Regions from separate parts of the Homo sapiens genome. Here all the other regions are linked to region 1. The links are contacts of gene promoters, found by promoter capture Hi-C in blood cells and fetal thymus (Javierre and others, 2016). All regions are on one chromosome and are shown on one strand. Each heading gives the region's core, a stretch centred on a gene start or on the middle of the fragment in contact. The rest is flanking DNA. Distances are from core to core; before and after follow the strand shown.

Region 1 (6,347 bases), core at 2,690-5,189:
CTCCAGGCTGCAAGGCTGAAATCCTTTCTGGTCCAGGCAGGGCAGCGGGAGGTTTCTGGGCACCTGAGCAGCCAGATGACAGCCCTTTATTATCCAGCACCTGCTCTGTGGTGGCTGGACCCCCTCAGAGGGGCTCTGTCTCCGCCCCCACATGCCCTTTGAGCTGCTCTGAGAAGCCACAGGAGCAACAGCTGTGGAGAGAGACTCTGCGGGGAAGCAGCCAACACCCCAGTCTCCCTACCCTGGCCTGCGTCCTTGTGCCTGGAGAACTGCCGGGCACGTCCCTCTCAGAACAGCAGGTGGCAGCATTGCATCTGTTTTCACCACCAAAGGGCTGTGACCCCCTGAGACCTGAGACCCTCTGCAGATACCTCAGTAACTAGTGGTTTCCAGGAGGAGAATGTAAGGGAGACGCAGAAGGGGATGTAACTTTTCTCCATAACTGATAAAAAAAAAAATTTAGGAGCAAGGATCCCTTTGCTTGTAAAATAACTCTTCAGCTGAACTTTTTGTTAGCAGCGTATATCTTTATAGGAAACCTATCTTTTTCCTTATGTTTTTTCTATATTTTCATAGGAAACCTCCCAACAAATAATGAATGTGCTTCCCAGGGACAAAGAGAAAGTGTCAGAATGAAGATGCTGGAGAAAATCCTTCTGTCATTTTCCAGCACCTATGCTATTTCTTGCAGGGAAAAGAGGTGTTCTGGGGTCAGACTGTCCTGGGTTCAAATTCTGTCTCACTTGCACACTTGCAGTGTGACCATTGTGTGATTTCTTTTCTTTCTTTTTTTTTTTTTTTGAAACGGAGTCTTGTTCTGTCATCCAGGCTGGAATGCAGTGGTGCAATCTCAGCTCACTGCAACCTCCATCTCAGCCTCCCAAAGTGCTGGGATTACAGGCATGAGCCACTGTGCCTTTTTTTTTTTGAAATGGAGTCTCCCCTCTGTTACCCAGTCTGGAGTGCAGTGGCGCGATCTCAGCTCACTGCAACCTCCATCTCAGCCTCCCAAAGTGCTGGGATTACAGGCATGAGCCACTGTGCCTTTTTTTTTTTTTGAAATGGAGTCTCCCCTCTGTTACCCAGTCTGGAGTGCAGTGGCGCGATCTCGGCTCACTACAACCTCCGCCTCCTAGGTTCAAGTGATTCTCCTGCCTCAGCCTCCTGAGTAGCTGGGACTACAGTCTTGTGCCACCACTCCCGGTTAATTTTTTTTTTTTTTGAGATGGAGTTTTGCTCTTGTTGCCCAGGCTGGAGTACAATGGCACAATCTTGGCTCACTGCAACCTCCGCCTCCTGGGTTCAAGCGATTCTCCTGCCTCAGCCTCCCAAGTAGCTGGGATTACAGGCGCCTGCCACCATGCCCAGCTTATTTTTGTATTTTTAGTAGAGACGGGGTTTCACCTTGTTGGCCAGGCTGGTCTCAAACTCCTGACCTCAGGTGATCCACCTGCCTCGGCCTCCCAAAGTGCTGGGATTACAGGCGTGAGCCATGCCGCCCGGCCGTGTGATTTCTTTTCTATCGATCTCAGGTCCCTTGACTGCAAACTCAAATCAACGGCAGTGCGCATTTTCATGATGTCTGGATGGGATAAGCTATACAGCCCTCACGTGATGCACAGGACGGAGCTGGGCTCAGTCAATGATGGTTCCCTTTCTCTGCTTTTGGAAAGGTGTGCTGTCAACACCAATTTAAAGAGCTGGCAAAAACAGTCATTCTCAGGGCCTTTCTCTCATCGGCCTCTCAAAAGCACAGGCCTCCACAGAGATGAACAGTTTCTTTCTTTTTTTTCTTCTTTCTTTTTTGGAGACGGGTCTTGCTCTGTCACCCAGGCTGCAGTGCAGTGGCTGGATTTTGGCTCATCACAGCCCCAACCTCCTGGGCTCAAGCGATTCTTCTGCCTCAGCCTCCGGGTAGCTGGGACTACAGGCGCCAACCACCACGCCTGGCTAATTTTTGTATTTTTAGTACAGACAGGGTCTCACTGTGTCGCCCAGGCTGGTCTGGAACTCCTGGCCTCAAGGGATCTGCCTGCCTCAGCCTCCCAAAGTGCTGAGATTACAGGCGTGAGCCACCGCACCCGGCCTGACATGAACAAACTTTTATCTTTCTTCCCGCTTTTCTCTTATTTTTCAGAAGCTTCACTGTATGAAGATAGAATAATAACAAGAGAGAAGGACATGAGGAGAGTGAGAGATGAGCCCGAGAAGGTGGTGAAGCAGTGGGACCATAGTGAGGATGAGAAAGAGACAGATGAGGACGATGAGGCTTTTGGGGAAGCTCTGCAGAGCCCAGCAAGCGGAAAGCAGAGTGTGGAAGCAGGAAAAGCCAGAAGCGATTTGGGAGCAGTTGCCAAGGGCCTGTCAGGAGAATTAGGCACAAGATCAGGAGAAACAGGCAGGAAGCTACTAGAAGCTGGCAGAAGAGAGTCAAGAGAAATTTATAGGAGGCCTTCGGGAGAATTAGAGCAAAGACTCTCAGGAGAATTCAGCAGACAGGAACCAGAAGAACTAAAGAAACTTTCAGAAGTGGGCAGAAGAGAGCCAGAAGAACTGGGAAAAACACAATTTGGAGAAATAGGAGAAACGAAAAAAACAGGAAATGAGATGGAAAAGGAATATGAATGAAGCCATCGGTAGAGATGAGGATCAGGAAGCTGGTGTTCAGAGGGATCATGGGATTTTATTAAACTGGATTTTCAAGCGATTTGTCTGTTATAGGAAAAATGAGGGTTTTACTTCTGCTGCTTTCCATCACTATTTTGCCATTAAATAGGTGTCTTTCACTCTTGCAAACCCTGAGTCTGTCACTTTGCCTCTTCACCCCTGCCCATTCTTGGAAGAGCATCGTGGAAGAAATGAGAAAGGTGCCAAGAAGAAAGGGTTTCAGGAGGGTGAAGATACGGGCGCTACAGGGAACAAGAAGTCACAGGGAGGAGAGGGGAAGGCCTGGGAGGAGAGGTGCTTCCCACACACCGGTGACTGACTGAGTCCCTCCAGTGCGCAGGACAGCGGGGAGGCTTTATGGATGGAACAGTGGTGGGGCGGCCCCAGCTGTCACAGGTAGGAGAATGCCGCAAGCCAGAACCAAGCGAATGCTGGGAGTGAGGCCAAAGATAGGGGAGTGGCCTGGGAGTCGGGAGGGCAGACAGACTCCGCCTCTGACACCTCTGGGTGGCATAATCAGGTAAATCAGGCTCTCCAAGCTGGCTTCTCCTCTGAACAATGGGATACCTGCCTCAGGGGTTGCTGCGAGGACTGAGTGCTTAGCACAGCACTTGGACAGGAAACTCAAAAATCCAACGGAGCTCTCAGTGGTTTCACAGAGGAGGTGGCAGCTGAGGATCTGGCCTCAGAGGATGTTAGGATTTCACTCCGTTACTCATCTGTCCCTTTGGCCATTGCCATCCTGGTCTGTCTCCACAGCTCCTAGAAGGAAAGGTCGGGGCTGAGACTGACTTTCGGCTGGCACAGGGCCTGGACGAATGAGGCCAGTGAGGCATTTCAGATGCAGAGTTTACCGGAATGCCAGCAAATTGCATGATAATATTTTAATCCAATGTGGTAAAAAAAAAAGTTTTTAATTAATGCAAAAGTCCATGATGAATAAAATATCAAAAATTAAAGACAGGATCCGACTTTGCACGACCCTGCCTCACTCACTTCCTGCTAATCCACGGGACCGGGGAGGGTGACTGAGTTACCCCTCAACACGCAGAAAAAGCTAGTGGCCGCTCAGCTCGCAGGCGCAGTGGGTGGGTGCGCGTGGGGAGCAGGCGCGCGCAGGGGGCGGGACCGGGCCGAGGTTCCCGCGCGCGGCGAGAGTTTCGGGTTTTGGTTCGCAGCGCCTGCGCGCAGAGGAGACGGCCCGCCCCCAGCCCGCCCGGGTGCCCGCTCCGCCCCCCGGGCTATGTAAAGCGGCCGGGCTCGGGTCGTGCCACCGCTGGACTCCCGTGTCCCTCCGCGCAGGCGGGCGGCCCCGGAGCGCTGGTGCCGGCAGAGGCGGCGACGGTGGCGCCCCTCCTCATCATGGTGAGAGGCCGGGCGGGGCCGGGCACGGGGTAGCACCAGGGCGGGAAACGAGTGTCGGGGCCCCTCGGGAGGAAGCGTCTTGCAAACGAGGACCCGGGGCTCCGGGTTCGACTTCCAGTTTTCTTGGTACTCAGGGCGGCCCTGAGGTCTGGGAGAAGCGGAGGGGTTTTGGGGTGCCGGAGAGGCCGCTGTAAAGGGAAACGGTGGTGTTTCTCAGGAGGGAACTCGGGACCGCAGAAGCTGCTGCGCCTCTGGGAGCCTGGGTGGGCCTGGGCCGGGAGCCCGGGAGCTGCTCCCGACCCCACGCAGGCCCGCGCTGGGGCAGCCGCTTCGGCGCCCCCTCCCCGGGCCCAGTCTCATCACGCGGAACCGCTGCCCCGCGCCCGGGTGCGGGCGGGAGGTGGAGCCAGTTCAGAGGAGGGGACCCTTTACGGTAAAAGCTGCCGTCCCTTGTGGCTTCTAGAAGATAGGAAAACAAGTGGCTCCGAGAGGCGCTTCTGACACACAGCACAGCGGCGGGTAGAGCTGGATCCTAATTGCAGGTGCCCTGTGCTGCCCTGTTCTGGACAGGCACAAAGACCACGACTTTGTGGGGGCCGGGAGAGGGTAGAGGAGGAGGTGGCAGGCTTGGTGAAAGAGGGCCTTTGTCCAGTGCTCTCCTGCCCTGCCCCCCACCAGCCCTTCTGTGGGACCATTGTACCCGCATGCCAGACAAGAGAGTATTATCTGTTGCGGCCATTGTTGGGGGAAGGGAGGCAGTCTTGGGGTAACCCTTCTCCACTCCCCCCCTTCTCTGTGCACTCAGCCGTGGCAGCTGTGGCTTGGCCCAGACACAGAGACCCCCACCTCCAAAGAGGACGTCCTTAGTAGGTGCCAAGCATATAAGAGTGAGGCCAGTCCCAGAACCGCAGGCTCCTGGCGCGCCCCGCATGCCTCCAGCACGTTTACCTTTCCGAAGTGGCAGGAATGGGGAAAGCGCACGCTTAGGAGAGCTTCAGACAAGCTTCCCTCTTCCTCCTCCACGACCAGAAGCGGAAAGGTGCTCCCGGACCGAAAGGGAAAGAAGGTCCAGCACTGCCCCGCTTGGGAAGGCACCCACAACCAGTCTAGGGACTAGGGGTAAGGCCGGCGGGGAGCCCGCGAATGACCTGGGCTGACATCTCTTCCCCTCCTTACACAGAACAGAGGCTTCTCCCGAAAAAGCCACACATTCCTGCCCAAGATCTTCTTCCGCAAGATGTCATCCTCAGGGGCCAAGGACAAGCCTGAGCTGCAGTTTCCCTTCCTTCAGGATGAGGACACAGTGGCCACGCTGCTAGAGTGCAAGACGCTCTTCATCTTGCGCGGCCTGCCAGGAAGCGGCAAGTCCACGCTGGCACGGGTCATCGTGGACAAGTACCGTGATGGCACCAAGATGGTGTCGGCTGACGCTTACAAGATCACCCCCGGCGCTCGAGGAGCCTTCTCCGAGGAGTACAAGCGGCTCGATGAGGACCTGGCTGCCTACTGCCGCCGCCGGGACATCAGAATTCTTGTGCTTGATGACACCAACCACGAACGGGAACGGCTGGAGCAGCTCTTTGAAATGGCCGACCAGTACCAGTACCAGGTGGTGCTGGTGGAGCCCAAGACGGCGTGGCGGCTGGACTGTGCCCAGCTCAAGGAGAAGAACCAGTGGCAGCTGTCGGCTGATGACCTGAAGAAGCTGAAGCCTGGGCTGGAGAAGGACTTCCTGCCGCTCTACTTCGGCTGGTTCCTGACCAAGAAGAGCTCTGAGACCCTCCGCAAAGCCGGCCAGGTCTTCCTGGAAGAGCTGGGGAACCACAAGGCCTTCAAGAAGGAGCTGCGACAATGTAGGTGGCAGGTTGGGGCCTTATAAGCCCACCTTGCTGGGCACAGGGTGCTGCGGGCAAAGGACCATCATTGTACTCAAAGGATGGAGCACGAAGCAGCAGGAGGCAGAGAGAGGCTCACCTCAGCGGGGGCAGGGGCAAGCGGTGCGTCCCAGTGGTAGCCTTGGGGAGTTGGCAGCACATTGGGAACACGGGGGCTTCCCAGAGCGCCTTTCCTCCCACCACACCTATCCTTCTAGCCCTCTTCTCTCCGACACCCTTTTCCCAGCCTGAATGTAGACCACTGTCCCTTGTCTTGGAGGTGGGAAAAACAAATTACTGTAGTAACAGGAAACATGTCCTCTTCTAATGTAACCTTAGAGGGGGAATCAAGCCCAGTGTTTTCCAACGCATTTTTAGCAGCAGAATCATGTTCCAAAAAATAATAATAATAATCACATGAAATTGTAAGCTGCAAAAAAA
Region 2 (6,347 bases), core at 3,848-6,347, 310 kb after region 1:
CAAGAAATAATAATAATAAATTAGCCCAAATAAGTAAAATTCTTAAATCTGTCTCAGAAATCATGACTAATGCTCTAAAAAGCTTTAATGCAACAAGAATAGGACAGAAATCCCCGCAAAATAAAGTTGTAAATAAAATGAGTGGGATTGTTGAGTTCTCAGTACAGACGTGCATGTCAACACAAACCCACTACATTGGCACAAATGATCCCTTTGTTTGTAAACAGAGGCCAAGGAGACAGCTTATAGCTCTTCTTCTATGATGTACACGGTAATGCTAGGGGAAGAAGAATGAAAGACAACTTATAATAAAAATTAAGACTTTCTCTTCTTTAATATAATTTCCACCAGAAGTATATACTTTAATTGGAAAAATATTTATCACCATCTTCATCAACATTTAAAAAAATCCTAAACATATAAAAATATTTTCTATTCAAAAACCAACGAGACTCCATTTGGGAACACAAAGAAATACAAGCCTCAAAGAAACAAAATGTCTTATAACAAAGTGGCAGTGGCCAGCTCGCTTTTGCTGTACACTAGTTAGGGATGCAGTCTCTGGAATCAGCCCCGCCAAGAACAGTAATGTGACCTTGGACAAATTACTTAACTTCTCTGTGGCCATTTCTTCATCTTCCATCTGGGAATAATACCCACTCCTCTGAGAATCACGAGTTAACACAAGGCCAGAGCTGAAAACAATGTCTGCCCAGCACACTGTCAGTGAACGGTAAGCATTAGGTAATGTTTTTATTATCTTCACACTTGAAGGCGTTGGAACATTTTCTCAAACTCTGGGTTTTGAACATAATTTGAAGGACTTGTTAATTGTCTGCTCACCTCTCGAAAGGTGGCATCATAATGATTAGATACATAATCAGAATATCTTCCCAGGTGAGCCATGGTAAGCAGAGCTCTAGCCCAGAATGATGAATAGTTATTTTTAATACAAATCATGGATGTGGCTGTTACTGGCAACTTCGGCCTGATTTCCCATATGCAAAGAAATCCCCTACCAGGGGAAAACAAGCAATGTTAGAAACCCGTTGGGTTTGTCCTGTTATCATTACAGGGTAAAGCCAAATTCACATTTAGTAGCCTGATGGGCATTAAAAATATTAGTCACCAAATTAATCCCAACAAATAACAATAATTGATTGGCTCATTGATGTATTTCCCCTTGTCTTCCCCAACCTTTCTCTAACTAGTCAGAAAGGAAAGTTTTCATATTTTCTGAGAATCTCATTACTGCTCTCAAACCATGCTCTATATCTTAGTATAATTTAAAAAATGAGTCAGCACAAGCACCTCAGAAAACTAGCATAGAATATGAAGCTACTTCTCTTCATATTAGAAAAGTACAAAAATTTTTAAAAGGTTATTCAGGGTACCAAAGGTAATAGAAGGATACATGAAGAGTGAATGTTGCAGTAGATTTTGCAAGCTAGCTTCCAAAAGTAGGTAGAAAAAGATAAATGTTCTTCATCAATCAATCAATACAGGTATTCATCATCTCAGTGGTGTCATCCATGTGAAAATGGACATAGTTATTAAGAATAAACCTAAAGAAGAAACCATCTTGTATGTGACAAATTATAACTTCTCCTTTCTTGAATATTGGGGCAGCAGGGGAATAGGAAGTCAAGATACTCCAAGTATTAACTTCATTTGCAAATTGAATTGTACATAATTGTGCACCATGCTAATGCAATACTGCTTTTAGTAATGGGATCCAAATGAAAATTTAGAAGAGGTAAACTCCCCCTAAACTGCAAACACATCTGAATGTCAATTCAATTAGGAGTCTATTTAGTTATTACACTTCTTAGCATAAAGCGAGTTAAAGGCCAGGAAAAGAACACTTGCTTTAATCACTGAAACAATCTACACATATTTCTCAAGGCTCCACTTAACTCATCCTGCAACATTTATATTAAAAGTGACCTATCACTTAAGTGATCCAGGAGAGTAAAGGAAGAGTTTTAAGGCTGAAGGTGATTCCTCCTGAGCTCTAATACCATACCCTGAATTTCACCTTGTTCTTAACTCTTTTCCATGACACTGTGTATGGCTTTTAAGCGAGTCCAGAAAAACGGCTATCATTACTACTTAATATAAACCATGGGGTTCTGTATCATGTAAACCCAGAGCAACTCCTCTTTGAAGCACCGACATTCAAGGCTCTACATAACATGTTTCAACTCTATCTTAGTGCTATACATTTTCCAAGTACCTGCGAGGAAACAGATAGCAGCACCTCCATTTTTCTGTAAATTGTGCTTTTGTTGCTGTTCTAAGACTCCTTCCAAGGCTGTTAAACTTTGAAGAGAGTTGGGAAAAGACAAGAACATCTTGCCTTCCCGATTGGGTATTCAGGCTTCACTCAGTAAAGCTGTCATGAAGTAGCGCAAAGGGTCAGAGACAAACCACATGGCATCTGATGTTTGTCTGTATAAGTTTAAAATAAAAATGTGACACTACAAGAAGGTTAACATGTGGACCTAATTTTGAAAATACAAACAGGAAGCACCCCCACCCCAATATTACCATTTAAAAAAAAAGGAAACCAAACCTCAAAGATACCTTCCAAGGAAGTGATGGGTGTGACCCAAACTAACAAAAGTAATAAAACGTCACTTCAACTCTGAAACCATCAAAAGTGAGGGTCTCATTCAACCAACTAAAAATCTAACACCTGTAAATTGCTCTTCTCTTTTGATTAGTAAAAACAGCATAGATTTAGATGTGCAAAATCTTCTCCAAACTGACATAGGCTTTTCAGTAGCAGAGGATCATCATTAATAAAACACCCAATGTCAAGATTTTACTTCAAATAAGGCCACTATAATTAACAGTGAATACAATTTTAAAAAGTATTTATCACTCTGATGCTTAGAACTTAAATTTAAGTACAAAAACTGTCTGATCAATGGAAACTAGATTGTTAAGTTTGACTTTCTTATTCCCAGAAATAAGCATAAAACTGTTGTGTTTCCAACACTGCAGGAGAAAAAAAAAAACTTCTGATTTTAGAAGAGTTCTATTCACAAAGCTCAGAATTAAAAACATTTTCTTCCTTTAAATACCACACATTTGAGGACAGCGATAGTGCAGAGCTAACTTTGAAGCATTATTTTTATTAAGTTGCACAGTTAAAGTATTTTGATACTTTGATATTTTATAGTATCAAAATAAAAGGATATTCTTCTCAAGAGTCCAGTAACCTGGAATTGCCAGATAGCTTTTTAAACGAATAAGTTTCAAATTATCAGAAAAATCATACAAACTAGGGTTATTTTGCTTCCTTTTGTAGGAATAATGCAGTAATCTGCACTCTTAACAGAAAGGGAAAAAATGTGTCACAGATAGAATGTCCAGAAATCTGTGAATAACTTTATGAGATACAGACATTTTTGTAGGGCACGAAAATAGTTAGGCTTCCTTCGATTCCACCTGTAACCTGCATCTAATCTTGAGCATGTTATTTACCTATCTATAACGTCTTCCTTTTACAATAAGACTACCTGTGTCACCTACCTACATAACAACAAGCCAAATAAACCACAACAAATGGATTCATAATATATAAGCCTAACAAAAATTACAGACAATTTGAATACTAACAATACTATGATTTGAAAAAACTCGACTTAAGTATCAAAAAGTAATAAATGGCAACTTTAGTCTTGATGTGGCTTTTACATATGTAAATGACATAAAAACAATCAAGAGAGGAAGAAAATGGAGATGAGATGAAAAGTCAGAGCAGGATAGGAAGTGTTGACCAAAATATTTATGTTGTAACACTCCAAACGATGATAGCACATTTTTCTCCTACAATCATACATACTATGAAGTACACACCTTAAATTTCTGAACACAATCCATATTAATATCCCGTGGGCAAAAAATACAAGCACCGAAAAGGTGAGAACTGATGAGAAGGTGGGATAGTTTACCTAGTTGGGTATATAGCAAAGATTATTTTGTGCAGAGTTTAGCTTCAAGTTATGCAATAACCAAACTACTGGTGATAGAAATCAACTTTTTTTTTCTGATGGTTTGCTTTACAAAAAAAAAAAAAAAAAAAAAAAAAACCTCTCCATTCCTTCCCTGTGTCTCAATCTGGAGCTTGAAATTTCATCTTCCAGAGGCTACAGTAGCAAACAAGTCATCTCCTAGATAACGCGCTTACCTGACCCAAGGTGTGGACTTGTTTGAATTAAACGTAACAGATACCACAAATTGTCACATAGGAAGTTTTTCTTAAAATCAGCAGCCCCTTCTCTTATTTAGCCATGTCCATTCTAACAACTGTGATCTTCCATGAGATGGAAACTGGTACCCAAATGAATAAACAAAACAACCCAAAGCCTTAAAATAAAATCAATCAATAAGATTCTCCCCATTTGAAGTGATCAGAACCACTCCAATATTTACAGTGTTACAAAATGAAATTTTAAAACATGAAAGGCACACTCAATAAAATACATCCTCACCTAGGAACTCACAGGCAATGAACATAACGCAATATAACATAAGCAAATGGACAACAATAGAATGTTGGGGAGAGAGGCACAGTTCTATTACCTTAATTGAAAGATAACAAAATTATTTGAAATAATGTAGACCCAACAGCTGAAAGCTTATTATGGCCCAGGCGGCTATCCAACAGCTTTGGAAACCTAAGATCCAAGCAGACCATAAACACCACTTGAAGACTGAAAAAAATGACATAAGCCCAAGTATGATATTCAGTGTCACGCTGGCCCTTTCAAAGGGCATTCCCTGAGGACACTGCAGAGAAAATGTATGGAATTGTATCTAGGCAAAGATCTGTATACTGCACGATGCTTTGGGAAGAGCACGAATCTCAGAGTCCTTGAAGTTTCAATCCCTGGATACTCAACAAACAGCCGTGTCACCTGAGCAGGCCACTTACTCCACCTATCTGGGCCTCAGTTTCCTCATTTGTACAATAAAAGAATGGCATCATCGCTGGGTTCCTTTCCAGCTCTAACATTCTTTGACCCACTTTTGGCACTATTTATTTGATACGAGGTATGGCGGGATCACAGGGACCAAGAAGAAAAGAACTGACTCTGGCTCTTTGGCAAAGAGAGAATCGGTATCTCTTTTAGTCTTTAAAATTCTTGTGCTTTTCATTAATCCCGTCTTTCTAAAAGCTGACACTTGGTTTTCTTCTTTGGCTTTTCCATCACTGCTGGCTACAAGTGTTTGCAACCGCCTCTTGCTCCGTGTGAGTTCTTTCCTCTTTGTTCACCCCGACCATCTTGCCAGATTCCTTTAGCCTCAGACCAGCTTTTGTGATACAACTCCCCTTCCGACTCTCCATATCTACCCCCCGACACCAGGAGCACTTTTAACCCTTTATCCCTGACTAGAAAGAAAAAGCACACTGCATCCCACGGCCACACGCACGAGCCCAGGCCTGGCGGGTCCTGATGTGGGATCCCGCCCCCCAGAGTCTTATCGAAACGTTCGTATTTGTTGTCTTGATTCCTTATAAGGCCCTGTTTCTTGAAGCTTTGCTAATACCCCCCACCGCACCAGGCACCCCCGCAGGCTCATCCCATCCCCGGAGTCCCGGGAACCTCTTTTGAAAGAAAGAAGTTAAAGCAAGGAAGACGGCTGGGGATATTCGGAATTGCAACGTGAAGGTGTGAGGCGGCTGACAGCAGCCCCCTGAGCTCCTATGGGGTCGGCGCGGGGTCCCCACACACCCACTCAGCACACGCGCACGCAGCCTTTAAAGCGCACGCCCCCCGCGGCGCCGCGGCGTTCGCAAGTCCCCCTCGCGCACCCCGCATTGCCCTCAGCCTCCCCGGCAGCCAACCCGGACCCCCTCTCCCCGCGCGCGCCCCTCGCCCAGCGCGCAACCACCGCGGCCCGGGAGTGATGGCGGCGGCGCGGCCCTGACGGGCGGCTGAGCGGCTGGAGCGCGGGCCCCGCCCGGGCTGGCTCCCCGGCCTGGCTCCCCCGGCCCCGGGCCCAGGGCTCGCCCCGCAGCTCCTACCTCGCTCGGCCCCTCGGGCGCCCGCGGCTGCTCCGGCCCAGCTGTCTGGCTTGCCCGCCCGCCCGCTCGCTCCCTCCCTCGGCCGGGCCGCCGCGCGGAGTTGCCTGCGCTGGGTCCCCGCCCGGGGTGACGGCTCCGGCCGCCGACTCTCCTCCCGCCGGGGCCCGCGGGGGCGCGCGCGCCGCTCACGCGCGGAGGCCCAGGGACGCGCGCCGCTGGCAACCCGGAGCGCGCCCCGCTTCCTGGTTCCGCCCGGCGCGCGCTCGCTAGCCCGCTGTCCCTCGCGCCCCCTCCGCGACCGCCCTTG
Region 3 (6,347 bases), core at 1,862-4,361, 290 kb after region 1:
GGAGTTTGAGGCTACAGTGAGCCATGACTGCACCACTGCACTCTGTCTCTTAAAAAATAATAATAATAAAGTAGTCTACAGCCCAAGATCCTGCTTTAAAGCTAAATTCCATAGATTACTTTTCAAATCATCCTTCGAAGCTGTCCTCTCTTTGTTCCTATCAGTCAGAACTCCCAGTATATTTCTCTTTTTCCTCAACAAGTTAGTTTCTGTCCTTAAAAAAAAAAAAATTAAGAATATTTCCCCTTCATTTTGGTTCTCTTACTCTCTTTTTCTCTCTCCCTCCAGGTGAACTGCTAGAGAGCTATGATTGTTTCATCTATATTTGGACCCCTAGGGTCAGGCTGTGTCTTCAGCAACTACTCAGAAAAATGAGAATGAAAAAGAAAGAAAAAAGGAAGAAAGAGAGAGAGGGAAGGACAAACTGGAAGGGAAGGGAAGGAAAAGTAGGGAGAAAGGAAGATGTAATGAGAATAGAAAATTTTTAAAAATGGAAAAAAAAAGAAGGTCGGTGCGGTGGCTCATGCCTGTAATCCCAACACTTTGGGAGGCCTAGGCAGGCGGATCACGAGGTCAGGAGATTGAGACCATCCTGGCCAACATGGTGAAACCCTGTCTCTACAAAAAATACAAAAATTAGCTGGGTGTGGTGGCATGCGCCTGTAGTCCCAGCTACTTGGGAGGCTGAGGCAGGAGAACCACTTGAACCCAGGAGGCAGAGGTTGCAGGGAGCCGAGATCGTGCCACTGCACTCCAGCCTGGCAATGGAGCGAGACTCCGTCTAAAAAAAAAAAAGTTTCTTAACTGTCGTTTCTTAATGACACGCAATCAGAACCTCCCCTGCAGCTGAGGTCCCCTGTGGAGAGTATGTCTCATTGTCTGTATAAACAATTACAACAATGTACCTGTAATTTTCCAGTTCATAATCAGGCTGTAAGAATGAGAACAATTTGTTTTATGAAACATGGAGAAAGACTAATCTTTGCTATTACTCTCAGTGCAGGTTTATCAGCAAGACTTGGAGTAGATAAGCCACAGGCATACAGATGAGGAATCACATTTTGAAAGCTTTAATAACTCCCTAGTGGTATGCAACAAGCTGCTGAATTAACTTGTCTTTGCATACTCATTGCACATGCATCACTGGCCAGGTCTAGGTACAAAGCAAAAACTAAACAATCAAAGGAAAGAAAAACTGTGAAGTCTCCAACCAAAAGAATTATGTTGCAAAAAAAGGAATAAACACAAAGGGGCAGATAGTGTATGATTCCACTGATATAAGATGCCTGGAGTAGTCAAACTCATAGAGACAGAAAGAATGAATGGCGGTTGTCAGAGCCTGCGGGGAGGGGCAAATGGAGAGTTTTATTCTCATTACTGTTTAATGAATACAGGATTTTAGTTTAGGATGAAAAAATTCTGGAGATGGACCAGGTGCTGACGGTCACACAACAATGTGAATGTGCTTAATGCCACGGAACTGTACTTTAAAACAGTGAAAATGGCCGGGCACAGCGGCTCGCGCCTGTAATCCCAGCACTTTGGGAGGCCGAGGGCGGTTCACCTAAGGTCAGGAGTTCCAGACCACCCTGGTTAACATGGTGAAACCCCACCTCTACTAAAAATACCAAAATTAGCCAGGCATGGTGGCGTGCACCTGTAATCCCAGCTACTCAGGAGGCTGAGGCAGGAGAATTGCTTGAATCCAGGAGGTGAAGGTTGCAATGAGCTAACCTCCAGCCTGGGTGACACAGAGAAACTCCATCTCAAAATAAAAGGTTAAAAATGGTAAATTTTATGATATATATACGTAACTCCACAATCTTTAAAATGGGGTTAAAAAACCAGTTTTTGCCTAATAAACTCACATTTTTTCTATCTTTAATGCTGAAATCCAAAGGAAACAAAGAGATATTTGCTGTCTCCTCTCTCTTCTCCCCCATCCCCCCAACTTTTTTTGAGACAGCGTCTCACTCTGTGGCCCAGGCTGGTCTCTAACTCATGGGCTCAAGTGACCCTCCTGGCTCAGCCTCCCATAGTACTGGGATTATAGGCATGAGCCACTGCACCCAGCCCCCTCTCTTTTCTTTCTTCCACAGTAAAAGGCACACTTTCAGTCCTTCTGAGGGTTGAAGTTCTCTGGATACACCTGCTGTATTGAGATTAAAGGGGAATACAATAGTCTTTCCTTATCTGAGATTTTGTTTTCTATGGTTTCTGTTACCCACAGTACAGCATAGTAAGATACAGTATTTTAAGATAGACTACATTCGGCCAGGCACAGTGGCTCACGCCTGTAATCCCAGCATTTTGGGAGGCTGAGGCGAGCAGGTCACGAGGTTAGGAGATCGAGACCATCCTGGCTAACATGGTGAAACCCCGTCTCTACTAAACAAAATACAAAAAATTAGCCGGGTGTGGTGGCAGATGCCTGTAGTCCCAGCTACTGGGGAGGCTGAGGCAGGAGAATGGCATGAACCCAGGAAGCAGAGCGTGCAGTGAACGGAGATTGCGCCACTGCACTCCAGCCTGGGTGACAGAGCGAGACTCTGTCTCAAAAAAAAAAAAAAAAAAAAAAAAAAAGACTACATACTTGTTCTATTTTATTATCATTGTTCTTAATCTCTTACTGTGCCTAATTTATAAATTGAACTTTATCATAATTATATATGCATAGGAAAAAACAATATATATATGTAGGGTTCAGTATTACCTGAGGTTTCAGGCATCCCTTGGGATAAGGCAGGACTACTATACTTATTTAACAGATACTTATTGAGTAACTATTACATGTTGGGCTCTGTTCTAGGTACTAAGAATGTGGCAGTGAACAAAACAGACATGCTTTATGTAACTTAGATTCTGGTATGTAATATTAAATACTTTAAAGTTTAAATAAATAATTGTGCCCCTGCTACACTTTCTAGTTTTTGTTTTTATTCTTCTTCTCTTTATTTCTGTTGGGAGAAAACAGATACCACCTGACAATTGAATCTTACAGGTCAATGACAAAGTCTGTGTGTTCAAACCAGTATCTGGGAAGAAGTTTTAAAAGCACCTCCACAACATCAAACAGGGGGATTACTGGCTTTTGTGAAGTCTTGGTGATGCAAAAGCAATTTCTGATAAAACCAGAACATCTGTTCATCCCTGCTGAAAGCCTATCATCTTTATGGAGCTATTGTATGTGCAAAACAAATCGGGTCCAATCAAGGATTCCACAGTTAAGATCATTTCAGTGTGGCATTATTCCAGCTTTGGTCCAGGACATACAGTTTTATTTACAGGATAACTTTCATGATTGCCACAATCAAATCAAATCCTTTGTCTTTCAAAGGTGATTTGCAGATTCAATCTTCACAAAGCACTAAAAATATAGAGCATGGAGTTAAAAATTCACAATGGGACCACACACAAATAGCAGTACAGGGTGGTAGATAGCTAGCCAATGTTTACTTTCTTCTTTTTCCCATAGAATAAAATATAGGTCAAATTCTACTAAAACAACAAATACCACCACAGTGAAAACCTAGGTATAACAAAAATATTTTGAAACACTTAAAAATGTCCATGTGTTTCTTAATCCAACACAATATACTTTTATAGAATCAATATAATGAATTTTATGAGAGTGCTGAATCCTAACCACTAGACAACCAGGGAATTATAATGAATTTTAAATCAAAAGAATGACTCCTTAGAGCATAACAACTTTGTGTCCGCTCTTTAATTTTCATCTTTAGGGACATATTTTAAATATTTCAAAATAGGCTGTCACAGTATATTTGGAAGAAAGGAATTTGTTTCCCTTTATGGAAATCATCCTCAAATGTATTGAGGAATAATTTTACATTCAATAAATTACATCAGGATGTTTCCAATGTTATAATGAACCTACTTTTGGCAACATAGTAAAATAAAGGGGTTCCTAAAGCCCACCCATTAGTAAAAGTTATTGAATATTTTATTTAACATTAAAAGGTCAACTAATTTGGCTTAGATGTCAGGCAATATCCAAAGAAACACAGAAGTTCTAGCCATTTCTTCAAAGGTTCCTTCTGAAATCAGGTATCCTTTAAAAAGACCATTAAGGCTGGGCACGGTAGCTTATGCCTGTAATCCCAGCACTTTGGGAGGCTGAAGCGGAAGGATCACCTGAGGTCAGGAGTTTGAGACCAGCCTGACGAACATGGTGAAACCCTGTCTCTACTAAAAATACAAAAATTAGCTGGGCATGGTGGAACTTGCCTGTAATCCCAGCTATCTGGGAGGCTGAGGCACGAGAATCACTTGAACCTGGGAGACGGAGGTTGCAGTGATCTGAGATCACGCCATTGCACTCCAGCCTGGGAAACAGAGCGAGACTCCGTCTCAAAACAAACAAACAAACAAAACCATTAAGATAAACTAAGTAGGAAGTGGCATTACCTAGATTCCAGAATCTCTGCAAGTCTCCCTTCTGAAGCTCCGTTTGTTCAGTATTCCTCACACAGTGGTGTTACCAGTCATGGTGTGAACTTGGCAGTTTAGGGAGGCTACCACCTCACCTAGGGGGAACTAAAAATGATTCCCCTCCCTTAAGTATCTCCTAAGACTACAGCAAAACTGGGGGGAACTCTCTTTTGAAAGGAAAAATTTCATCTGTAACTAGATCCCCAATTTTAAGCATCAACTTGATGTATTTTATAAAAATGAAGAGTAGCTAAGACCAAAAGGTGAATATGATTCTTTTCTAGACAAATTCAGTTTCAAAAATAAAGTTAAACAACACTCTGAAACAAAACAAAAATAACAAAACACCCTGCCTAAAAGTGATTTGACAGTTGAGGTATACCTGAAACAGGGTGGGCTGTTTATTTTTATTCAGAATTTTGTTTTCAGAGATGGGATCTCACTATGTTGCCCAGGCTGACTTGAAACTCTTGGGCTCAAGCGATCCTCCCACCTTGGCCTCCCAAAGTGTTGGGATTACAGGCGTGAGCCACTGCACCTGGCCAGAGAGGGCTTTTCTACTCCCAAGAAATGAGAGGTCCTCTGAAAGCAGGAGCTTCAAGGACATGGGTAATGCTTCAGCCATGCAAGGATGCAGCAGTTTTCAAACAAGAGGGTGCATCTGTGGGTGTCTGGGTGTGTCTTGGGGGTGAGGGAATGGTAGGAAGCTTTAAGGGCATCACTTTCTTTAGGTAAGAGACACTTTTGTGCTGGGCGCGGTGGCTCACGCCTGTAATCCTAACAGTTTGGAAGGCCAAGGTGGGTGGATCACCTGAGGTCAGGAGTTTGAGACCAGCCTGGCCAACACAGCGAAACCCCGTATCTACTAAAAATACAAAAATTAGCCGGGCGTGGTGGCAGGTGCCTGTAATCCCAGCTACTTGGGAGGCTGAGGCAGGAGAATTGCTTGAACCTGTCGGGGGGAGGCTTCAGTGAGCCAAGATCATGCCACTTCACTCGGCAAAATAGCGAGATTCTGTCTCAAAAAAAAAACAAAAAAGAAAGACACTTTTATTTCCTACAGAGCAGTGGCTTCAGTTCCCACAGGGCAAGAGACCCTATTTGTTTTGTTTTATTTTAAGTTCCAGGATACATGTGCAGGATGTGCAGATTTGTTACACAGGTAAACATGTGCCATGGTGGTTTGCTGCACCAAGCGACCCTATTTGTATTTGTTGATTGTAAGCCAGATGTTATAAAGCAGGAGACAGCCCTATATTTCATTTCCCTTCGTTAGAAGGCCTATAGCCACACTGTTTATTATGGTAGCCTCTAGCAGCATGTGCTACCTAAGCACTTGAAATGTAGCTAGTGCGACTGGGGAACTGAATTGCAAATTTTATCTCATTTGAATTAACTTAAATGTAAACCTGGAAACTGGTGTTCAATTTAATACTTGGAAAACCTTTCAGTACGTTTGGAACACCTTCAGTATGTGAATCTACTTTATCAACTGAAAGTTTTATGAAATCTGAACACAGTTCATGCATTTCTGGTGAAAATTTGGTGGCTAAATTGAGAGATTTTATAACTGTAAGATACACACCAGATTTTGAAGCATTCGTACAAAAAAAGGAATGTAAAATATCTCAGTGTTTTTGTGGGCTTTTGGGTTCGTTTGTTTTTTTTTGAGACAGGGTCTCACTCTGTTGCCCAGGCTGGAATGCAGTAGCACGAACACGACTCACTGCAGCCTTAACCTCCTCGGCTCAAGTGATCCTCCCACCTTGGCCTCCCAAGTAGCTGGGACTATAGGTGCACATCACCATGCCTAGCTAATTTTGTTGTTGTTGTTGTTAGAGACTGGGTCTCACTATGTTGCCCAGGCTGGTCTCGAACTCCTGGACTCAAGTGAT
Region 4 (6,347 bases), core at 2,571-5,070, 260 kb after region 1:
GGGTTTCACCATGTTGGCCAGGCTGGTCTCGAACTCCTGACCTCAGGTGATCCGCCTGCCTCAGCCTCCCAAAGTGCTGGGATTACAGGTGTGAGCCACCGTGCCCAGCCAGAAAAATTTTTAAACATGTAATTATATAATTTCCTATTTATCATTTCAATAAAGCTCCACTTATAATATGCCTACTATATACAAAAGTATTGTTTGCTAGTATTTATTTAGACTGTGAGCTCCTTCTCAAAAGAAGAAATGTCTTCCCTGGCAGCTCAGAAGCTCCCTGGATGTGGGGACCTGAGTGAGATATGCACTTAAGCGGGGGGTCCTGTCATCTCCCCTTCCTAAATCTCATCCTCTCAGCACTGTCTTCAATGCAAATAAGTCCCTGCTACTCAGAGAAAGGTCGCTGCCTCCGAATGGAAAGTGTGCTTTCTCCCAACCCCACCAGAGCTGCTTTCCAGTCCCCAGGCCCAATCCTCAAGTTGCACAATGTGCCTCCACCGCGCCTCACCTTGGATCCTCAGGCTCTCCTGGTACTGGATGATGAAGTACTCCTGAGTCTGCTGCAGCTTTTTTAACTCATTCTCTGTGTCCTGCGTGACCAGTCGCAGCTCCTCAAACGTCTGGTTGATCTGGAGGTGTTTCTGGGACATGGCATCAGCAAGGCTTCCAGCTGGAGAGCTACCCTGGGAACATATGGGGGGCAGTGCAAGGCAGTGCGAATGGGAGGAAGACTGAGGCCTTAATCCCCAGGAAAAGCCAGCTCCTACAACCAGGGTAAGACCCCAAAAGGTAAATTTTGAGTCGGGAGGAAAAGCAAACGTCATCATGAGACACAGGGTGGAGTGGGAAAAGTGAGAAACAGGTGAGCGGACAGATCATGGCTCAGATCACAAAGCATGGGAGAAGCTTCCATTTCAGATCTGACCTCCACCAGAGTATTCCAAACGAGGTCCATTGAATTACCTTTGGAGAAACTAGAACGTAACCTGGTCCAGTGTCACCTGGGTTTTCCTACTAATGAGGAGGTGGAGTGATTCCTCTTCCACTCACTGACCCAATGCAAGGACGGCATTAAGCATTAGGGAGGCCATGGGGAGCAGGGCCATGTGAACACACATCATCTGTGTCCTCACTCAAGATATTCTCGTGATGGAATCATTTGCTTCCACCATGGAAGAGGCCAAACCTCTTGCAGGCATCCTGGAGACCCCAGGGTGAAGTGATGGGGGAGGCATAAACAAGGTCTCTGTGGACCCAGCCCTGTAAGTGACCTGATCAGACCACTCCTTCCACACCTGATTCAGGGGCTAGGGAAAAGTCTTTCCTAAGTATTCTCACCTGAATATGAGCATGCCTTTACTAAAAAATTATTCAGCTGAGGTTGAATTACTTTGCACTTGTTCACATTGTCTTGTGGTTGCAATCTCATCAAGGTTATAAATCAGTTAAGATCAGAGACCACATCTTCTATTTCATTTTTTTTTTTTTGAGACAGGGTCTCACTCCATCACCCATGAGTGCAGGGGTGCGATCATGGCTCACTGCAGCCTCTACCTCCTGGGCTCAAGGGATCTTCCCACTTCAGGTTTTCGAACAGCCAGGACTACAGGCATATGCCACCATGCCCAGCTAATTTTTTTGTATTTTTGGTAGAGACGGGGTTTCATCATGTTGCCCAGGGTGCTCTCGAACTCCTGGGCTCAGGCAATCTGCCTGCCTCAGCCTCCCAAAGTGCTGGGCTGCACTCAGTCAAGTCTCCTATTTCTTTTGTGCCCCTTAGGATGAAGCTCTCTTTAAAGAGACACCAATAGTGCACCCTGAGTCACCTTGACAAAGGTGGGTCCAGAGGGAGGTGGGTAAGAAAAGACTTCCCGACTGCCCTCCCCATCCCTATGGGACACTCACATTGTTGGCTTCTCGGACCAACCTCTGTTCATTGTACAATATATGGCGGATGCAGCGGACCAGCTCCATGGGGCAGCGGTCATACGTGTTCTGAAAGAATCCAACAGCAGACATCACTTTGTGCCACTCCACACTATGGGCCCTAACCATGCCTCAGGATGGGGAGCCTCCTGAGGGACCTCCTGAATCACAGGAGGCACTGTTCCTCCAATACCAACAGGAACAAGAAGGCACATCATGGAAATCCAATTGCAGTGAAAAGGTAAGATTGTTTTACTTCTTTTTTCTTTTTTTGAGACTGAGTCTCACTCTGTTGCCCAGGCTGGAGTGCAGTGGCACAACCTCGGGCCACTGCAACCTCTGCCTCCTGGGTTCAAGTAATTCTCCTGCCTTAGCCCCCCGAGTAGCTGGGATTACAGGGGCCCGCCACCACGCCTGGCTAATTTTTGTCTTTTTAGTAGAGATGGGGTTCCACCATGTTGGCCAGGCTGGTCTCGAACTCCTGACCTCAGGTGATCCACCTGCCTTAGCCTCCCAAAGTGCTGTTTTACTTTTTGCATCTTAATTTGCCTAAAGTATCCGGGGAACATTCTTAAAAACGGAATAAATAAGTTTTAAAAGCCTCGCAAGAGGAGAAACTGGATGCCACTCTCAAATGGGCAATCAAAACTACTACCACCAATGAGGGGACGAGGGACACTGCCCCCCTCTGGATGTGATACCCGAGAAGGACAAGTCACCTACAATTGTCCCTTGGCATCTGTGGGGGCTGGTTCCAGGACCCACTTGGATACCAAAATCTGCAGATGCTCAAGTTCCTTATATAAAATGGCATCGTTTTGCATAGAATGCATACAATCCTCCCATACACTTTAAACCACCTATAGATTGCTTATACTATCTAATACAAAAGAAATGCTATGTAAATAGCTGTTCTGTCATATCTTTATTTCTATTTGTTTTTACTTTTTTTCTTTTCCTGAATATTTCTGAGCTGCGGTTGGTGGAATCAGGATGCAGAACCCATGGACATGGACAGCCAACTATATTTAGAAGTCTGCTCGGAGATGTGCAATGTTAACGTAATCATGAGGAAACATCAGACAAACCCCAAATGAGGAACATTTTATCTTTAAAAAGCAGGGGGTACATGAATTATTATTATTATTTTTTGAGATGGAATTTCACTCTTGTCACCCAGGCTGGAGTGCAATGGCACGGTCTCGGCTCACTGCAACCTCTGCCTCCCAGGTTTAAGAGATTCTCCTGCCTCAGCCTCCCAAGTAGCTGGGATTACAGTTGTCCACTGCCACACCCAGTTAATTTCTGTATTTTTAGTAGAGATGGGGTTTCACCATGTTGGCCAGGCTGGTCTCGAACTCCTGACCTCAGATGATTCACCCGCCTCAGCCTCCCAAAGTGCTGGGATTACTGGTGTGAGCCACTGCACCCAGCCTACATTAATTATTTTAAAATGCCAATGTAATGAAAGACAAAGTAAGGTTGCAAAATGGTTCCAGATTAAAGGAGATTAAAGAGACATGATGACTAGATGCAATATGTGATCTTGGGCTGGATTCTGGACTGCAGCGGGGAAAAATACCCTAAAGGACATGTTTGAATTAGTTGACAAAATGGAAATCCAGATGAGTACCTAAAAGTATTATATCAATGCTAAATTTAGTGAAGTTGATCAGTGTATTATAACCATGCAAGACAAGGTTCATTCTTAGAAAATGCACAGAGGGGCTGGGTGCGGTGGCTCATGCCTGTAATCCCAGCACTTTGGGAGGCCGAGGAGGGTGAATCACCTGAGGTCGGGAGTTCGAAACCAGCCTGACCAACATGGAGAAACCCCATCTCTACTAAAAATACAAAAATTAGGCGGGTGTGGTGGCATGCACCTGTAGTCCCAGCTACTTGGGAGGCTGAGGCAGGAGAATCACTTGAACCCGGGAGGTGGAGGTTGCGGTGAGCCGAGACCGCGCCACTGCACTCCAGCCTGGGCAACAAGAGTGAAACTCCATCTCAAAAAAAAAAAAAAAAAAAGACAATGCACAGAGGGACCGGGCATAGTGGCTCATGCCTATAATTTCAACACTTTGGGAGGCTGAGGTGGGCGGATCACCTGAGGTCAGGAGTTCAAGACCACTGTGGCCAACATGGCAAAACCCCGTCTCCACTAAAAATACCAAAAAAAAAAAAAAACTGCCAGGCATGGTGGCAGGAGCCTGTAATCCCAGCTACTTGAGAGGCTGAGGCAGAAGAATCGCTTGAACCCGGGAGGCAGAGGTTGCAGTGAGCTGAGATTGCTCCACTGCACTCCAGCCTGGGCGACAGAGCAAGACTCCGTCTCAAAAATAAATAAATAAATAAATAAATAAATAAATAAATAGAAAATGCACAGAGGTACTTACTGGTGCAGGGACACAAGGTATGCAACTTACTCTCCAGTGACTGAAAAACGTGTGTGTCGAGAGACAGCGAGGAGTATATGACAACATAAAAGTCAACAACAGGTGAATATGGGCATATGTGGGGAATCTTTGTATGATTCTTGTAACTTTCTGGAAGTATGAAATTATTCTCAAATAAAAAGTAAAAAAAAAAAAAAAGACCAAAACCACACAACAAGAACCTTATGCACGTGTAACTCAACAATGCTGGACTGAAGGAGAGAAAGAAAGTCTCTACAGGAAGAAGACCCCCAAGGGAAGGTAATTAAGTGTGACCCCAGAGCCCACACCCACCTGGAGCTGTGTGGCATAGTGCCCCAGCTTGATCTTCAGTAAAAACCCATCTTCCCCCACCTGGTGCTCTGCCTTCTTCTGCAGCTCCTGCACCAGGCCCTCCAGGAGCTGGGTGGCCTTAATGTTCTCCTGTGGATTATCAAGATCTACTGAGTCCCTAGGGGAAAAAAATTACATAATCTGTATACATACATGCACGTGAGCCTGTATAAATACAGCCTCAACACATCCTACTTTTTCTTCAACTAAAGTGATGTTTTTAATCCTCACTGCAAATTTTAAGAAACAGCCCAACAGAAATGGACTCAATGCCTATGTTAATCTATTTGTAATTTACTAAATAGTTGGATTATACAGTAGATTTCCTTCTTTTAAAAAAAAAAATTTTTAACAATGTGCTGCCCTTCTTCCTTTCTCTCAATGATGTGCTTGGTGCTTATGCTATTTGCTCCGAGAAATGCAAGGAAAAGGAAAGGGTTCTGTGTACTCTGAAGGAAATAAGGACTTGGATAATTTCCTATTTATAGTTACCCCTCATGGGTGTAAAGGAGGCACAAGGCCAAGACTCTTCTACATGTCCTTTCCAGCCTCAAGGAGTTTGGTATCTGTGGGTTTCTTAGGTAGAGACAGGTGAAACAAGTTATTGCTATTTCTAAGAAGCCCTGGAAATGAGACATTCAGGCAGAGGGTGCCTACAAGAATTTATACGAGTCAGACATTCATGTCACTAGTTGCAGACCCAGGACCTGAAGGCAATGCCAACTTTTCCAGTAAACAAGGAAAACCACGCTACAGACTTTGCATTGATTTCAAGCTACTGAACTGGTGACGGGGGTTGGATGGTCTCCCTCCCTCCTTTCTTTCCTTCTTTCCTTCTTTCCTTCCGTTCCTTCCTTCCTTTCTACTACTTAGGCAACAATTGACACTGGGAAGTACCAAATTACTTACTCACTGAAGAAACCAAACAGCTGTCGGACTGAAATAACATTCAATAACTGCTGACTGGGTCTGGAGCCAAACAAGATAGTGGTAGCTAAAAGGCTCTGCCATCCCTAAATCCCTGAAGATAGCAACTAATTTCAAAAAAGAGGCACCAACAAGTGTATCAAAACAGTGAGACCGGCCGGGCGTGGTGGCTCACGCCTGTGATCCTAGCATTTTGGGAGGCCGAGGCAGGCGGATTACCTGAGCTCAGGAGTTGGAGATCAGCCTGGGCAACACGGTGAAACCCCATCTCTACTAAAACACAAAAGAAATTATCCGGGCGTGGCGGCATGTGCCTGTAGTCCCAGCTACTTGGGAGGCTGAGGCAGGAGAACTGCTTGAACCCAGGAGGTGGAGGTTGCAGTGAGCCAAGATTGCGCCACTGCACTCCAGCCTGGGTGACAAAGCAAGATTCTCTCTACGAAAACATAACAAAACAAAACAAAAAAAGCAGTGATACCATAGTCCATCAAATAGTACACCCCAATCTGCGCCTTGAGAAGGCAGTTAAGGCAAGTCAGATTCTAAATATGTGTGCCCTATGTATTAAATAGAATACGTATTAAATGAAAGGCTGGAAGGAATGAGGGCAGCCCTGCACCTCTGTTTCAACTGGCAACAATGCCCTTGGTCTGGAAACCCACTCTTTTTCTTTGAGACGAAGTCTCACTCTGTCACCCAGGCTGGGATGCAGTAGCACGATCTTAG

Evidence for each region. Contacts are between HindIII fragments. The CHiCAGO score rates a contact against its expected background, and 5 or more counts as called.
Region 2: a fragment that was not itself captured here is called in contact with the fragment with the promoter of CNP in region 1 in 7 of 17 cell types (endothelial precursors, M0 macrophages, monocytes and 4 more); the score reaches 8.1 in endothelial precursors.
Region 3: a contact is called between a fragment that was not itself captured here and the fragment with the promoter of CNP in region 1, in 2 of 17 cell types (monocytes and M2 macrophages). The highest score is 5.7, in monocytes.
Region 4: a fragment that was not itself captured here is called in contact with the fragment with the promoter of CNP in region 1 in 2 of 17 cell types (M1 macrophages and M0 macrophages); the score reaches 5.9 in M1 macrophages.

The regions. Positions count from the first base shown.
Region 1 is chr17:41,962,856-41,969,202 of GRCh38, forward strand. It overlaps CNP (2'',3''-cyclic nucleotide 3'' phosphodiesterase), which reads left to right and starts at 3,940. Exons shown (of 4, transcript NM_033133.5): 1 at 3,940-4,032; 2 at 5,213-5,885. The coding sequence starts at 4,030. ODAD4 (outer dynein arm docking complex subunit 4) reads left to right here. Exons shown (of 12, transcript NM_031421.5): 12 at 2,138-3,648. The coding sequence ends at 2,628. RefSeq lists silencers at 231-380, 3,683-4,122, 4,253-4,442 and enhancers at 3,213-3,312, 4,414-4,971, 4,972-5,529, 5,530-6,087. The HindIII fragment of the contact is 2,895 bases long and covers 2,139-5,033 here.
Region 2 is chr17:42,270,208-42,276,554 of GRCh38, forward strand. STAT5B (signal transducer and activator of transcription 5B) reads right to left here and starts at 6,184. Exons shown (of 19, transcript NM_012448.4): 1 at 6,041-6,184. RefSeq lists a silencer at 5,817-6,347. The HindIII fragment of the contact is 902 bases long and covers 4,647-5,548 here.
Region 3 is chr17:42,254,306-42,260,652 of GRCh38, forward strand. All of the region lies in intron 1 of STAT5B (signal transducer and activator of transcription 5B), which reads right to left. Among named protein-coding and RNA genes, the nearest start is that of STAT5B, 19 kb to the right of the region's middle. The HindIII fragment of the contact is 4,091 bases long and covers 1,067-5,157 here.
Region 4 is chr17:42,222,874-42,229,220 of GRCh38, forward strand. STAT5B (signal transducer and activator of transcription 5B) reads right to left here. Exons shown (of 19, transcript NM_012448.4): 3 at 4,656-4,812; 4 at 1,906-1,995; 5 at 509-683. Among named protein-coding and RNA genes, the nearest start is that of GHDC, 32 kb to the left of the region's middle. The HindIII fragment of the contact is 5,832 bases long and covers 905-6,347 here.